2 separate regions of the Homo sapiens genome follow, and region 1 is linked to region 2. Evidence: promoter capture Hi-C in human tissues and cell types (Jung and others, 2019). All regions are on one chromosome and are shown on one strand. Each heading gives the region's core, a stretch centred on a gene start or on the middle of the fragment in contact. The rest is flanking DNA. Distances are from core to core; before and after follow the strand shown. Region 1 holds the start of ZNF211 (zinc finger protein 211). Region 2 overlaps LOC124904784 (a long non-coding RNA gene).

Evidence for each region. The method cuts DNA at HindIII sites, captures the fragments that hold promoters and counts their contacts. A contact is called where the count stands out against the background at its distance.
Region 1: the fragment with the promoter of ZNF211 here is called in contact with a fragment that was not itself captured in region 2 in 1 of the 25 tissues and cell types used here (dorsolateral prefrontal cortex).

What each region holds. Positions count from the first base shown.
Region 1 is chr19:57,631,852-57,635,362 of GRCh38, reverse strand. ZNF211 (zinc finger protein 211) reads right to left here and starts at 2,195. Exons shown (of 4, transcript NM_006385.5): 1 at 1,927-2,195; 2 at 1,302-1,340; 3 at 608-734. The coding sequence starts at 2,016. RefSeq lists a silencer at 1,876-1,945 and enhancers at 2,386-2,435, 2,506-2,595. The HindIII fragment of the contact is 12,794 bases long and covers 1,188-3,511 here.
Region 2 is chr19:58,163,348-58,166,807 of GRCh38, reverse strand. All of the region lies in intron 1 of LOC124904784 (a long non-coding RNA gene), which reads right to left. Among named protein-coding and RNA genes, the nearest start is that of ZNF329, 14 kb to the right of the region's middle. The HindIII fragment of the contact is 6,997 bases long and covers 1-3,460 here.

The DNA.
Region 1 (3,511 bases), core at 946-3,445, 530 kb after region 2:
AAAAGTACTATAGAAGGATGGTGGTGATGGTTGCACAATAATGCGAATGTACTAAATGCGCTGAACTATATACTTGAAAATGATTAAAATGGTAAATTTTGTTATATATATTTTACAATTAAAAACAAAGAAAAACACCTTGAAGGAGGTTTCTATAAGAACAGTCTGTGTAATGTCTCTGCGGCACAATTTGTTAGAGTGTTCTGCTGTTAATGGAAAGGTTGGTGGTTGAAGAACAGTCTGTGTAAATAGTGGCAATGTCAGTGACTACATTTCATGTCACAGTCTAGCACAAATAAATGTTAGGTACACGAAGGGAGGGAAAACTGGGTGCCATAGATCTAGAAAGTCACCAGACAGGGAGAAGGCAAGTCAGGTGGGATCTATTAGGCTTACTGTAAGACTACTGATCCCAAATCCTTACCCAAGATGCTTTTGGGCTGGGACGATAAGGGAAGTAGGCTTGCACTCAGTCCACAACATCTACCCAGGGAACTGGGGAAGGAGGCAGTGCCTATAGTCCAGATATGAGGACAGAGCTGCTCCTGAGGAAAAGGAGAAACAGAGAGCCTAGTCCAGGGCACAAGGGTGAGTATGAGGGCCTTACCCAGGGAGGACGTAAGTGCAAAGTTCTCCAGCATCACATCGAAGTACAGGTGTTTCTGAGCCTCATCAAGGAGATCCCATTCCTCCCAGGAGAAGTACACGGCCACATCTTCAAAGGTCACACTTCCCTAGCATAATAGGGATTGATGAAACCATGAACAGTCTCAATTTGGAAGACTCAAAATCCATGTCCCCATACATTCTCCTCCCAAGATCCCCAAGTCAGAAGAGACACCAGACCTTGGTGTCATTGATCCCTGCTGTCTCTTCACATTCCCATTAGTCACTGTGTTCATTCTGTTTTCCACTCTGTATCCTGTCAACACTTGGGTTAGATAAATCTCCCTCCTCTGATCCCAAACTCCAACTTCCTCACAATAGATGCCAAACTTCACAGAAATAAAGGAAACCTGCAGTTCCCTGAACCAGCTCAGCCTCACCTCCAAGGAGTTCCAAAAGCTGGTACCTACCTGTTTCTATCATAAATTTTCACCCATCTTTCCATTGGCTGCTCCAAATGGAAACATTGGCCTGGACTCAGGGCCCTTAGCTCAGGGATTCTCCAGGGTTCCCAAACCAAACGCTGAGAGAATGGTAGGTGAGTCCCATGACACCACAAATCTAAAGAAAATATCTGTCTGGGGAGGGTGGAGGGACATTCCAGACCAGTGAGGGGCTGAGATACCTCCACTTACCTGTGTAAGTTTGAAAAGCACCTCTGTAGCTATGGGAACCTGTGGAAAGACGCAGGCCTCAGAGGAATGTGATCATGGCAGTGCTCCATGGGCACAGGCCTTCCCTGTACCCTTGCCCCGGCCCAGAGCCACGTAACTTTGGGTCGACTGTCTAACCTGTGCGCCTCGGTCCTTAGTGCTGCCTCTCACCAGTTGTGTGGCCTTGGAAAAATATTCAACCTCCCTCTGCCTCAACGTCCTCATCCATCTCTAAAGTCTTTTCTTCCACTGAACAGCCTGCAGAGGATTTTTCAAATTTAACTCAGATGGTGTCTCTCGTTTGCGCAAGCTCTCTATGGCTCCCACGGCCCTAAGAATAAAGGTAGATCTCTCTCAAACTTTGTTCCCTGCAGTAACAATGTGGAGCCCAGGTTCCTGAATGCCCCCTTCTCGGTTGCCCGTCCAAGCCCTGCACGCGCCGGTCCTGTCCCTTGTCCCCCTGCCCACCACATCGGATGTCAGAAATAGGGGCCCCACCCACGAGCCTCAGTGTCCCCGACCCTGTGCTACAGAGACGTGAGCTGGTGCCTCTCACTTGGGACTTAAGAATCTCGGCCGGGGGAGGCCCGGAGATCGCAGCGCTCACCGAAGCCGGGTCCCTCAGTGCGGTCGCCATCCGAGTCTGTGGGCGGAGCTGGACCGGGAGCTGCGGGCGACCCGGGGGGAACCCGAGCATCGCTATCCCCAGGCCGGCCTCGCGGGCGGCTCTGCCCCCGACCCTCAGACCTGACTCTCGCGCCTTCACGGTCCGTCACTTCGATCCCGATGCAGCGTACCAAAGCGGCTGACAGACAGAACGGACCTCCGGGAGGGCAGCCAAAATGACCGCTGCGAAGACGCCACAAGTCCCGCCCTGGGGGGGGCGGGGGTAGACCCACACGGAAATGCCCCTGTCTTGGATTTTCATTGGATCAAAGTACTGCCGCTCGACGCAAGGCTTTCTGGGTAATGTAGTCTCCCCCAGGCTGCGACGGAGGGCGCCTTGTGTGCAGACAGCTGGGAGCGCTAGGAAGCTGCGTCTGCTGCCTTCCAGGGCGACTGAGGGGCTTCGGTGTTTGAGGTCTTAAGTAGGTTGACACTTGAACAACACAGGTTTGAGCTGTGCGGGTCCATTTACACGTAGGCGTTTTTTTTCCCCAATAAACGTTACTTCGAGTGTGCTCCTTTTCCTGCCTCTTCCAGCTCCCCGACCTCTTGCCCCAGAGACAGCAAGACCTCATTCTCTTGCCCAGCATGAAGAACACAAGGATGAAGACCTTTATGATGATCCACTTCCACTTAATGATTAGTAAATGTATTTTCCCTTCCGTATTCTTTTATTTTCCTTTTTTTAATTGGGTGTAATGTCAACGAGCCTCTTACAATTTTCCTGATACCCTTTCTCTGGTCTGTTTTAGTACAAGTATAGTTCTTATACTAAAATATATATAATGCATATATCATACAAAATGCATATATCATATATATTATGCATATATCATGCATATATCATACAAAATGTGTTAATCGACTGGGAGTTTATGTAATTCATAAGGCTTCCGGGCAACTTCATAAGGCTTCCGGGCAACAGTTGGCTATTAGTAGTTAAGACCTAGGGGAGTCAAAAGTAATACAAGCATTTTCAATTCCGCAGGGGTCGGTATCCCTGACCCCTGCGTCGTTTAAGGGTCAGCTGTATATCAGTCTCTAGTGTAGAGGTTCACTTCAGTATTTAGACATCATTTCAGATTCCATGCAGCCCACCCCAGCAGATCTCCACTGGTAGTGGGAAGCGAAAAAACGTTATCTTATTGCTCTTCAAATGCATGCAGCCTGAAGTGTTAAAGTCACTTTTTGTAGGTTTTGTCAGGGACAAAAGACACCAGACAGGGCTACAATGGGAAGATAGTGGAGGGATAGTGGGCAGCCCTGAAGCCAACGGACAAGGGAAGTTCCCTGCTTCTGGTGCCCCCAGAAAACGCTCTCCTGCCTGCAAAGTCAGTTTTGTTCATAAAACATGAAGCTTTAATACATGAATGTTCATTTTCCTTGTATAATCAAAACATTTAATTTTTTTTTGAGACAGGGTCTCACTCTGTTGTCCAGGCTGGAGTACAGTGGAACAATCATAGCTCATTGCAGCCTCCACTTCCTGGGCTCAAGTGATCCTCCCACCTCAGCCTCTTGAGTAG
Region 2 (3,460 bases), core at 26-2,525:
TTTGAGTAGTGGAGGAGCAAAGTGTAAAACCTTTCCCTGAATGATTCCCTTCATAAGGTGTCTCTATAGATTCTTAGCTATAGGGTAAAAGTGTTCACTTCTTTAGAAGAATTTCCTAAATTCACTGCAAATATATAATTTCCCACAAGTATAAATTGTCTCATATTGAATAAGGTATAATTTGTGTCTACAGCCTTTGCTACAGCGATTACATTTATAGTATTGTTCTCCTGTATAAGTTCTGAAACATACTGAAAGAAATATTTCTTAATAAAGACTCTCCAACACTCAACACATTTGTAAGGTCTATTTCCTGAGAGAGTTTGCTCATACATCAGTGGGGTTGAGCTCTGTTTAAAGACTTCTTTACACATACTACATTTATATGGTCTCTCTCCAGTATGACTTCTCTGATGTCAGAAAGTATTTACCATAAACAGGGATTTCTCACATTCAGAACATCTGGAGGGTTTGTCAACTGTGTGAGTGCTCTCAAAACAAAGATGAGAGGAGCTCTGAATACACTTTTCCACATTCCTTACATTCAACTCAACTCTCTCTAACATGAATTCGCTTACATTGACTGAGACTTGTGCTACACTTAAAAAATTTACTACGTATATTTCATATATAAGGCTTTTCTACACTGAACTGTTTGCAAGTCTAAGAAGTTGAGTGTTTTGACCAAAAGCATTCCCAAAATCATAATTTTCAGGGGTTTTTCCCTGTGCATTTATGGTTTATTAAATCTGAATGTTGTTTTACAATGAGTCATGTATGTAGTGGTATTCATTGATAAGAATATTGTTTAGTGGGCCAGGCACGGTGGCTCACGCCTGTAGTCCCAACATTTTGAGAGGCCAACGTGGGTGGATCACAAGGTCAGGAGTTCAAGACCAGCCTGGCCAAGATGGCGACACCCCTGTCTCTACTAAAAATACAAAAATTAGCCAGGTGTGGTGGCGGGTGCCTGAATCCCAGCTACTTGAGAGGCCGAGGCAGAGAATTGCTTGAACCCAGGAGGTGAAGGTCGCAGTGAGCCAAGATCATGCCATTGCACTCCAGCCTGGGTGACAGAATGAGACTCTGTCTCAAAAAACAAAAACAAGGCCAGGCGCGGTGGCTCATGCCTGTAATGGCAGCACTTTGGGAGGCCAAGGAGGGTGGATCATGAGGTCAGGAGATCGAGACCATCCTGACTAACACGGTGAAACCCCGTCTCTACTAAAAATACAAAAAATTAGCTGGGTGTGGTGGCGCGCGCTTGTAGTCCCAGCTACTCTGGAAGCTGAGGCAGGAGAATGGCATGAACCCGGGAGGCAGAGCTCGCAGTGACCTGAGATCCTGCCACTGCACTCCAGCCTGGGTGACAGAGCAAGACTCTGTCTCAAAAACAAAACAAAACAAAACAAAAAAGAATATTGTTTAGTGGAAGAAGGCTTGAATTCTACTTAACATTAGCTGTGCATTTCTTATTCTTGCAACCTCATTCCTGAATCAGTGTTCCTCAAGCATCATTTGTTTGACTCATCTCTCCTGGTCCTCCTTCTGCTTCTCTAAGTGGACCTTACAGTCCTGGTTTCTTCCAAATGTGAAGAAATGAAGCTCATTCTTTGTGAATCTTTCCACTTTCAGGATGGCATTTTTGTTGTTGTTGTTTTTATTTTGTTTTGTTTTGTTTTGAGACGGAGTCGTCCTCTGTCACCCAGGCTGGAGGGCAGTGGCGCAGTCTCGGCTTACTGCAACCTCTGCCTCCTGGGTTCAAACAATTCTCCTGCCTTAGCCTCCCAGGTAGCTGGGATTACAGGTACACGCCACCATGCCCAGCCAATTTTTGTATTTTTTTTTTAGTAGAGACGGGGTTTCACCGTGTTGGCCAAGCTGGTCTCAAACTCCTGACCTTGTGATCCACCCACCTCAGTCTCCCAAAGTGCTCGGATTTCAGGCATGAGCCACCACGCCTGGCCTGGCATATGGTTTTCAGACAAATGTCTTCCTTCCTGGTTATCTCTTTGCTTTTGATGATAGTTTCACAATCCAAAAAAAAAAAAAAACCAGATACATTTGTACATCCCCTACAGTTGTTCACTGAATAAATTATGGCTTGTTCAATCAATTAAAAAACCATAATTTTAAGAGCTGGAGAGAAAATGCTGGTATTAAGCACATCGAAAGCATGTTGATTTGTTTCCAAATCTGTCTTGCCAGGAGCGACTGAGCAAATAAGAATAAGCCCAGTCTCTCCAGGTGGCTGATAGGAAAATAGATCAATCTCTGCTAGTAGTCATTTCTCACTCTCTTTTCTTTTTCTTTCTTTCTTTTTTTTTTTTTTTCTTTTGAGACGGAGTCTCGCTCTGTCGCCCAGGCTGGAGTGCAGTGGCACGATCTTGGCTCACTGCAAGCTCTGCCTCCTGGGTTCACGCCATTCTCCTGCCTCAGCCTCCTGAGTAGCTGGGACTACAGGCGCCCGCCACCATGCCCAGCTAATTTTTTGTATTTTTAGTAGAGACGGGATTTCACCATGTTAGCCAGGATGGTCTCGATCTCCCAACCTCGTGATCCACCAGCCTCAGCGTCCCAAAGTGCTGGGATTACAGGCGTGAGCCACCGCGCCCAGTCTCCTCACGCTGTTTTCAAGATGCTCTTCTGGACCCCAGTGCTTTGGGGGCTTGTCCTGAGCCCTCTTCTCTCATCCACCAGTATGGTCTGTTTTATTCTGCTGGCTTCAAACACCATCTGAACATTGATGAATCACAATTTGTAGCTTCATTCCAGATTCTTTTCTGAGCATGGACATATTTCACCATATTCATACTGCCTGCTGGGAGTGTCTATTCATTTTACAACCATACCTTGTCAGTACTGAGTTCTACTCTCATGCTCTACCTCCTCTTCTCCCAGGTTTCTCCTGTCCATGGATTGCATCACAGTTGCTCATGCCAGTAGCCATGGACCCTTCCACTTCCATTTTGAATCAATCACCAAATTCTGAGCCCACCTTAAACATACATTGAAATGATCCCCTTTTTACTTCCATTGACTCATCCGGTTCCAAGTCATGACACTTCTTGACTGAACTACACAGTAGTGCTTTCATCATCATCTCCTCTTCTGTTCATGACACCATCCCAACACTCAACCAGTGCAACCGTTCAAACATGGAAATCAGGCCAGGTGTGGTGGCTCACCCTTGTAATACCAGCACTTTGGGAGGCCAAGGCAGGAAGATCACTTGAGTTCAGAAGTTCGAGACCAGCCTGGACAACACAGTGAGACCCCCGTCTCTACAAAAAAAGTTTTTTTTTAATTAGCCGGGTGTGGTGGTGTGCACTTATGATTTCGGCTACTTGGAAGGCTGAGGTGGGGGGATTTCTTGAGCCCAGGATTCCAAGGTTGCAGCAAGCTATGATTGCACCACTGCACACCAGCCTGGGTGACACAGCAAGACCCTGTCTCTTTT